Linked DNA regions of Homo sapiens: region 2 is linked to region 1. Evidence: promoter capture Hi-C in 16 types of primary human blood cells and fetal thymus (Javierre and others, 2016). All regions are on one chromosome and are shown on one strand. The core of a region is centred on a gene start or on the middle of the fragment in contact, and the rest is flanking DNA. Distances in the headings are between cores, read along the strand shown.

Evidence for each region. The method cuts DNA at HindIII sites, captures the fragments that hold promoters and counts their contacts. A CHiCAGO score of 5 or more calls a contact.
Region 2: a fragment that was not itself captured here is called in contact with the fragment with the promoter of WDR45B in region 1 in 1 of 17 cell types (M0 macrophages); the score reaches 5.0 in M0 macrophages.

What each region holds. Positions count from the first base shown.
Region 1 is chr17:82,646,726-82,651,494 of GRCh38, forward strand. WDR45B (WD repeat domain 45B) reads right to left here and starts at 1,719. Exons shown (of 10, transcript NM_019613.4): 1 at 1,549-1,719. The coding sequence starts at 1,615. RefSeq lists silencers at 1,172-1,221, 1,232-1,281, 1,882-1,951 and enhancers at 1,364-1,863, 2,242-2,311. The HindIII fragment of the contact is 18,003 bases long and covers 1-4,769 here.
Region 2 is chr17:82,937,204-82,941,841 of GRCh38, forward strand. TBCD (tubulin folding cofactor D) reads left to right here. Exons shown (of 39, transcript NM_005993.5): 35 at 68-157; 36 at 846-933; 37 at 2,164-2,273; 38 at 4,196-4,280. It overlaps LOC124904095, which reads left to right and starts at 4,287. Exons shown (of 1, transcript XM_047437261.1): 1 at 4,287-4,638. The coding sequence starts at 4,303. The HindIII fragment of the contact is 5,400 bases long and covers 1-4,116 here.

The sequences.
Region 1 (4,769 bases), core at 469-2,968:
TATAGCACACTTCACTAAAAAGAAGGCATTACAAACACCAGATGGTTGGAAACCACCCTCTGAGAAGGCTAGGCATCTCCCTTACCATCTCAGCAAAACTTTCTTCCGGAGAAACCCCAGCACACAACCCTGGGGAAGCTGGCAGCGCCCAGGAAGCCTGACTGGTCCCAGGGCATCAGGCATCAAAATCACTGAGAGGGAGTTCTTTCAAATATGTGTAATCCGGCCGGGCGCAGTGGCTCACGCCTGTAATCCCAGCACTTTGGGAGGCCGAGGCGGGTGGATCACCTGAGGTCAGATTGAGACCAGCCTGGCCAACATGGTGAAACCCCGTCTCTACTAAAAATACAAAAAGTAGCCGGGCGTGGAGGCAGGCGCCTGTAATCCCAGCTACTCAGGAGCCTGAGGCAGGAGAATGGCGTGAACCCGGGAGGAGGAGGTTGCAGTGAGTCGAGATCGCACCAGGCTGGGCGACAGAATGAGACTCCGTCTCAAAATGAAATAAATAAATAAATAAAATTGTCTTCACATATACGGGATCATACAGCACCTGCCTGGATTCTCTTCAAAAACAAAACTTCCAAAGCCAACATGTAAAGCCTCGCAGAAGCCTGTCTCGGAATAACGGACATTCCTTTTCCTCCCCATCAGGACCTTTGGGAAGCGCGCCCTTCAAATGGGAGGTGAGGAGGCAACCATCCGAATCCAGGTCCCGCCCGCCTCCCGCGGGAATCCGACCGCGCCGCCCCGGCCGCATCCCCCGCAGCTCCGAAGCACCTGCGGGGAAGGAGGTCACCTTCCCTGGGCGCTTTAAATCATCCAGTGCTTACACCTGGATTCCGACATGGGAAAAGAAGTAAGATTTCCCTCAAAGGCCTCCCTTAAGTCCTTTGACTCCACCAAACACGAAGAAAAATCCCGGGGAGTGGGGGTGGGGAGAGTGACATTTTCCGATGGAAACCGACGGGAAAGGTGAGACCTGCACCCCACCCGCGCCACTCGCCACCAGAGGCGTCGGAGACGCCGGCTCCGCGGCTCCAGTAAACCCAAGCGAAGTCAGCTCAGCCACGGGCTACCTACTAAAGACCCTGAAAGGAACAGGGGGCAAAACGGGGTTCTGGGCAGGGCGTCAATCACGCTGTGGGGAAAATCCCGATAACCGTGGAGCCCGCAGGGAGCCAGGGAACCCGAGTGGGCGTGGCGCGCGGGGAGGGGCGTCCGCGCAGGAGGCTGGGGTTCTGTGCCGTCTCCCACCGACCTCGACCTCGGCCCGGGACGGCCGGCTGGGAGCGGTCACAACCCGGGGGGTGGGGGAGCGCGAAAGGCCAGGAAGGTGGGAGCCGGTTCGGGCCTGGTCCGGACCCCGGCTCGGGCTGGGAGCAGCGGCGAGGGCCGGGGCCGGGGGCTTCGGAGGGGAGCTCGGGCGGGGCCGGGGTCCCGGGTGGAAGGCCTGGCCGGAAAGGGGCGCCCAGGAGAGGCCTGAGAGCCGGGGACCCCGGGCTGCGGGAAGGCCCGGCCGGGCAAGGCGACAGGGCCGCGCCTCCTCACCGTGGTCCTGGTTGAAGCCGGCGTAGAGCAGCCCGTTGCCGTGAGGGTTACACGGCAGGAGGTTCATGGCGCCGCCGTGCTGGGTCGCCGCTCCTCAGCGCTGCATGCCTCTCGCTGGGGACGGCGGCCTGGTCCCTTCGGGCCGGCGCTGAGGCCGCCGCGGCCGGAAGTGCCGGACGTACGTGCGTGCGTGCTGGATGTGCGTGTGTGCTGGACGTGCGTGCGTGCGTGCTGGACGTCCGTGCGCGCGCCCGCGCCCCACCAGGGAGCCTATGGAGCGCCGAGCGCATCTAACCGAAGCGAGGCGAGACGAGGCGAGGCAGGGCGGGGAGGGGCGGGGCGGGGCGAGGCGAGGCGAGGCGAGGAAAGGCGGGGAGAGGCAGGGCGGGCGGGGCGGGATGAGGCGGGGAGAGGCAGGGCGGGCGGGGCGGGATGAGGCGGGGAGAGGCGGAGCGAGGCGGGGCGGGGAGGAGGGGGCGGGGCGGGGCGGGGCGAGGCGAGGAAAGGCGGGGAGAGGCAGGGCGGGCGGGGCGGGGCGGAGGCGGGGAGGGGCGGAGCGAGGCGGGGCGGGGAGGAGGGGGAGGGGCGGGGCGGGGAGGGGCCAGGCGGGAGCGCAGAGCACGTTCGCGGGAGGGTCTGGCCTTGTCATGCGCGGGGTCGCCGCGGGAAGGAGGATGGCCCGTTGAGGGCTTGGCACGGATACCTGACGGTCGGAGGAAGGGGGGAGAGCCGGTAAAGGAGGCTGACCCAAAACTGAGGCCCGGTGCATCATCCCTCATGAGAGGCAAGCCCAGAAGCGCCACAATACTAGGGTCCCCCTTCAGGAGACAGAGACCCCCAGGACACAGAGGGCCCCCAAGTCACTCAGCCCCCCCAGGACACGCAGCTCCTGCAGGACGCAGAGGGTGCCCAAGACACACAGTCCCCAGGACAGAGACCCCCCAGGACACAGAGGACCCCCAAGACACGCAGTCTCCAGGACACAGAGGTCCCCCCAGGACACACAGTGCCCCCAGGACACAGAGGTCCCCCAGGACACAGCACTCCCAGGACACACAGCCCCCCCGGGACACAGAAACCCCCCCAGGACACAGCCCCCCTAAGACACACAGCCTCCCCCAGTACACAGAGTCCTTTCCAGGGCACATATTCCCCCAGAAGACACAGAGGTCCCCCTAAGACACACAGCCCCCCCAGGACACACAGACCGCCAGGTCACAGAGACCTTCCCAGGACACAGGGACCTTCCCAGGACACATAGCCCCCCAGAGGACACACAGCCCCCCCACGACACAGCCCATAGAGGACACAACCCCTTAGTACCCCACCTAAAGGACAGGTGGCCCTCACACAGCACAGCCCCCGCAGGACTCCGGGACCCTCAGGTCACATTGCTCACAGGGCACAGTTCTCAACTCTTAGGGTCAGGCTGCTGGGGGCATCCTGGTCACAGAGCTTTGTCCCTGGGCTTGGCTCATGCAGTGGATGGCTGTGGAGGCCTGAGTGCTGGCCCTCGTGTCTCTTGCCCAGGGAGTCCTCTCCACTCCCCCTCCTCACTTTCCTGTCCCCTCCTAGGCTCTCCCTGTTCCCTGCAGCACACCTGATCTCCTAGGAGGTCCTGACACTGTCCCCTCGCAGCCACCTGCCTCCACCCCGTCTGTCATCCTCATCCCACCCTCGCCACTTGCCTGAGCTGGTGCTGACCTCTTAGCCATGGGGAGGAAGGAGCTGGACTGTAAGCTGAGATCACTGGCCCACTCGGGCCAGGCGGTCTCCGCATCGTGGGCATTGAACACCTCGATTCCCATACGAGAGGGGCTCCTCCCTGAGAGCGACCAGAAGCCTTCCGATGGCGGAGCGAGTTGGGCCGCCCCGGCTGTGACTAGGGCTCGGGGGCCCAGGTCCAAATCACAGAGCTGGGGCGAGACCTAAGTGCGGTCCAGGGGCTCAGCACCCTCTTCCCTGAAGGGCACTGGGTTCTCCTCTGTGCACACGTACCGGTACCTGCTGTGAGAAGTGTCACGTGGGGGAAGGAGAGAGGCGTGGGTAAGGGACATTTCCCTTCATTTCTCTGCTTGCCACCCTTGGGGCCTCCTTCAGTTCACATTTTACTCAGTCTCCCGGTGGCTGTACAGCCGGGGGCGGGGGCATGTGTGGACATCCACACACAGCGCTGGTTGTATCCTAACCAGGAAACTCAAAGCAGCCTTGCCCACCACAGTGCGTTGAATGGTGACCCTCTAAAGATGTGTCCTGGGGGGCTGAGGAGGGAGGATGGCTTGAGCCCAGGAGATTGAGGCTGAGGCTGCACTGAACTGAGATTGTGCCACTACACTCCAGCCTGGGCAACACAGCAAGACTCTGTCGCAAAAAAAAAAAAAAAAAAAGATAGGTCCACCCAGAACCTGAGAATAGGGGCTTCTTTAGGTAAAGAATCATTGCAGAAGTAATTAAGGATCTCGAGATAAGATCATCCTGGATTTGGGGTGGGCCTTAAAGCTGGTGACCGGCACCCTTGGAGGAGACAGGAATGGAGGAGATACAGGGGACAGCAGCCAGTGGGACTGGAGTGCTCAGCCCTAAGTCAGCAAGTGCAGGAATCGTGGGGTCACCAGGAGCCGGGAGAGGCATGAACGGTTCTTCCCCAGAGCCTCCCAGCCTGGGAAGGAACACAGGCTGTTGTCCAAGCCACCAGCCTGTGGGGCTTTGTTCCAGCAGCTCCAGGAATCCCGCCGTCCACTGATAGCTCAGAGGTCTCCACGTGGAAGACCTGAAGTGTGACTTGGAGTGAGGGACACGGCTCATCTCGCCCACCCTTCTCCAAGGCAGGCAGAAAGCAGAGTCTCACCTCTGGGGGTGGAGAGAATAGAAATTATACACACACACACACACACACACGCATATATATGTATTTATATATATATGTATATATCTCCTGGGCTCAGGAGATCCTCCCACCTCAGCCTCCTGAGTAGCTGCAACTACAGGTACACACCACTATGCCAGCTTAATTTTTTGTATTTTTAGTGGAGACAGGGTTTCATCATGTTGCCCAGGCTGGTCTTGAACTCCTAGGCTCAAAGGATATGCCTGCCTCAGCCTCCCAAAGTGCTGGGATTACAGGCGTGAGCCGCTGTACCTGGCCTAACGATGTATTGTTTAAAGATACAACATATTTGGACACACATAAACATATAAAGAAAACCAGGAGGATGGTTTGC
Region 2 (4,638 bases), core at 167-2,666, 290 kb after region 1:
CAGAAAAAGTGTGCATCCCGGGGCTGCCTGTGAAAGCTCATCTCTAAAGTGTGTGTTGTTCTTCCAGCCACCCCTTTGCTGTGAAGTTGCTTGCGCTCTGTAAGAAAGAAATCAAGAATTCAAAAGATATCCAGAAGCTCCTGTCAGGCATCGCAGTGTGAGTTTCAAGTGCTGCTGGCCTTAGACGGAATGGCAGGGCGCAGCCTCCCTTGGCTGAGGGCAGGAGTCCACGGCTCCAGGCGGGAGAGGAGCAGTTAGTGTTACTCCTCAAGCTAACCTAAGATCGTGCATTCCAATGTTCAAAGCAGTCGCAATGGGAGGTGAGGCAGCCCAGGTGCTGGTGGAGGGAGTTCCCGCGGGAACAGGCGAGCTCTGCCTCTGCTGCCCTCGCGCTCTGCCCTGGCGGGAGGGGAGGCTCCGGAAAGGAGCTGCGTGGTCAGGGGCTGCCTCCCCGATTCTCCTGTGTGCCCTGGGGGTCGCTGTTGAGTGCCTTGCTCTGCGGCGCTCAGGTGGACACTGGGCAGGTGCGCCAGCCAGCGATAGGCACCTTGGCTGCTCTGTGGCTCCTTGAGGTGGGGGTCCTCATGGCAGGGCGAGCGGCCCTGCAGGAGATCCTCTGTGAGGCGTCCTCACTTCCCACAGTGACTTTCCAAGTGCGACACTCGTGTGTGTAGGCACAGTGCAGATGTACGCACACACACACCTCCGGCTTGGGGCCCCAGGCCCGCACTGTGCTCACGGATCTGCTCTGCCCAGGTCTCTGCATGGGCCTTTGGGTCCGGGGTTTGCTGGGGTTGGCCTGCGCGGGGTGGGGCTCACCTGGAGCCATGTGCTGCTCCCGGCAGGTTCTGCGAGATGGTGCAGTTCCCCGGCGACGTGAGGAGGCAGGCCCTCCTGCAGCTGTGTCTGCTCCTCTGCCACCGTTTCCCGCTGGTGAGTGCCTGCCCCTGCTCACGTGTGTTTGCCGTGTGGACACAAGCCCCTCAGTGACAAGAAGGCCTTCGCTGGCACTGTTGTGTTGGTGTGCTTTCCAGCCGAGCCCCTCTCGTTAACGCGCCTGGGTGACGACGCGTCACAGGCACGCGGCTGCCAAGGGGCTCTGGACGCCACTGTTCTGGCTTTAAGGACGGGCTGTCCGGCTGGCGTTTCTATGGACATACATTGAGGGGTGACCTGGCGGTGGGATCTGGCTCAGGAGCTTCCAGAAGGACCCAGGCTGAAGTGGTTCAGCCACACCTAGGGGCAGTGCCCTTCATCCCCAGCACTCCCCGGCTATTAGATTTCTAGGATTTCTTTTCTCCTGGCTGCAAAAAAAACCTCAGATGATACAAAGGTGACATTTTCCTAAAAGGCAAAAGTAACTTCATGTTGTATGGTGGTTCTCGAAGTGGGGTGCCGGACCCTCAGGCTTGGCACCTCTGGGGCTTCAGCAGTGCAGCTCTTGGGCCCTGTGCTGCCGACTCAGCACCTCCAGGGTGGGCCCGGGGCTCAGACCACCAGCGCAGTGAGACATGATGACCAGGGCACCACTCAAAAAGAGAGCAGGCGAGATTGCTTCCCTGATGAAAAGAGAGCAGGCGAGATTGCTTCCCTGATGAAAAGAGAGCAGGCGAGATTGCTTCCCTGGTGAAAAGAGAGCAGGTGAGATTGCTTCTCTGGTGAGGGAGCAGGTTGGTTAATAGATAGCGGGCGAGATTGCTTCTCTGGTGAGGTAGCAGGTTGGTTAATAGAGAGCAGGTGAGAGTGCTTCTCTGATGAAAAGAGAGCAGGCGAGATTGCTTCTCTGGTGAGGGAGCAGGTTGGTTAATAGCAGGCGAGATTGCTTCTCTGGTGAGGGAGCAGGTTAGTTAATAGAGAGCAGGCGAGATTGCTTCTCTGGTGAGGGAGCAGGTTGGTTAATAAAGCATTTAAACAAGAATGATGTCATCTTCACTGCTGGGATCCTGCAGCTAGCTGTGTGTCTGTGGAGGGAGGAGGTGGTTAATGGGCCTGGAAGGCACCTCCTCTTGGTTGCAGCCCTGCTGTGGCTGGGATGGGATGCAGGGTCAGCGTCCTCCTCCTGACGCCTTCCACTGACGGGGCTCCCTGGCCTGGGTCCTGTCGTCTCTCCGGGGTGGGGCGGTGGCGCTTCCCTCCGGCAAATGCACTGCATCCCTGTCCCAGATCCGGAAGACCACGGCCAGCCAGGTGTACGAGACATTGCTCACCTACAGTGACGTCGTGGGCGCGGATGTGCTGGACGAGGTGGTGACTGTGCTCAGTGACACTGCGTGGTGAGTGAAGGCCCTTCCTGCACGGCCACCTGGGCCTGGCACCGCCCCTCTTCCTGTCCCCACCGTGTCTACTCGTCTCTCCCAAAACCCTCTGATAGGAGGAGGAAAGAGGGTTCCCAGGTCTCCACATCCTCTGCTTAGGTTTTACAAGGCAGCCGTGCTGCTGTAGCCGAAACCTCTTCTCAACCGCCCTGTCCCCAAACAGTGTCAGGTGTCAGGAACACAGCAAAGCCATCCATCCCACCAGGGGAGCGGGCACCTGTACCACAAGGCTGTGTCTGGTGGCCTGTGGAGCAGAGGGCACTGAAGGCCTGGCAGGTGCTGCTGCCCCAGACCTCTCTAAAGTTCTCTTGGAATAGGCCGTGTGAGCACCTGTTGGAAATCAAGAGGCACAGGCGGAAATAAGAAAAGCTCTCCCCACGCCTCTGCTCTGATGTCCACCCCCTTCCTCAGGGCCATGAGGCCCTCAGGAGGCCATAGTGCCACTCTCCACGTTTACTTTGGCAGGCACAGTTTCTGCAACATGGGCTGGCTTCTTTACCATGGGTGGAGTAGAATGGCGGTTTTGAAAGATGTGTGTATTGAGTTGGGGGTGGGAGGGTCTGAATGAGAGCAGAGTGGGGAAAGTGCAGGCTCAGGTGTCCTGGGCCAACCGGTATGTTCCTGGGAACAGCAGTGATGGTGTCTTACACATATGGGCATGGGCACCCATGCTGGCTCACACACATGCTCACTTGCACGCGCGCACACACACACACACACACACACACTTCTAAAAGGGGAGCAGTCTCGTCACCCCGTGTTGGAGATCAGGACTGAAGCAACCAGAGGCTGTGTGGGTGTCCACATGGCATACCCGGGGTGGTGGAGTCCCAGGTGTCCTGCCTGTGGATGCTGCTCTGTTTTGAGTGCCGACTGTGAGGGCCTCCGTGCTGATCCCGGTGCGTTGCTACAGGTCTGTGGGGTCCACGCCCCTTGTTGAATCCAGCAAGGACGTAGGTGACGTTCCCTAGGTGTCTCCTCGGAACAGTGACCTTCCAACAGGGCTGGGTTCCCATAGAGCTCACGCACCAGGCAGCCGCTGTGGCCTCGGAGGACAGAGGTGGCCTCTCCAGGGCTTCCGCGAGGTTTTCTGGTTTGGGGAGGAGTGTGTGTCTGCTCCTAAACAAACACGTGGTCCCAGGAGAGGAACCGGGAGCAGCTGGGCTGTCTTCTCAACATGCGTTGAGAGAATGGCCATCTTAACTACTGCTCTGGAGACCCGTTTTTACAATGATTTTTTTAAAAAAAAACACCAAGGTGCATTCTGGACCAGATTCTAAAATAATTGGCTTTAGGACTGAAGAAGCCAGGTGTCCCGAGCGGGGCGAGGCCTCCTCCAGCGAGGCTGGGTCGGGGTGGCCTCCTTTCCTCACATCAGGGAGGGAGGAACTAGCAGGGTGGGCCTGGGGGCTTCTCCTATCGTTTAATCCCCTTTCTGTTAAAAAAAAAAATCCTTAGAATTTAAAGAGAATATTTTAAATTAGAAACGAAAAACATGCCCCAGATATCTCCACAGCATTGCTAGAATTTTTATTTCGCATCAACAGCTAAATTAAAACCTGGAAAACCCTTGTCAGCCCCTCCTTGGCCTCGCTTGGTCTGTCCTCCCGCAGTCCCTGCGCTGGGCGTGGTCCTTCCCGAGGGGCACCCCTTGTTGGGAAGGAACCGTCCTCCTGCGATTCCGGAAAGGGCTCAGGCTCGAGGCTCTGCTGGAGAACGTGCTCCTGTGACGTCTTTTCTGCCCTCAGCCTGGCTATGGATGTCGGGGGTGAGGTCTCCTTTCCCTGACTGCGGCCATGGAAGCTTGACGCGGGACCTCCGCACACCTGAGGTTCTCCGGTGGGCACTCGAGAGACTCACGGCTCTCCCTCTCCTCACAGGGACGCGGAGCTTGCAGTGGTGAGAGAGCAGCGCAACCGTCTGTGTGACCTTCTGGGCGTACCCAGGCCCCAGCTGGTGCCCCAGGTAACCCTGTCACCTTCACAGCATGAGGTGCCTGTGCTTCCCTGAGCTCTGGAATGTTCTGGGGCCAGCGGCTGTGCTTAGCTTCTGCCAGCACGTCCACACGGCCCGTTCCCTCGTCTCATGTCAGGACCCCTGGGATTACGGGACCAGCAGAGCTGCCTTCTCTGGCCACTGCCCACACCTGTGGGCCCCTGTGGCATCCAGGCCACTTGCTCTGGGGCGTTTGGGGGGCCGGGGAGTGGGTGGAGCTGGCACCAGCTTGATCCAGGCTCCTCATGCCTGGCCCTGGGGTCTGTTTGTGCTCCAAGTGCCAAGAGTGCCACCCTACCCCTCCTCATCTGCTTCCCATGAGTGGGGC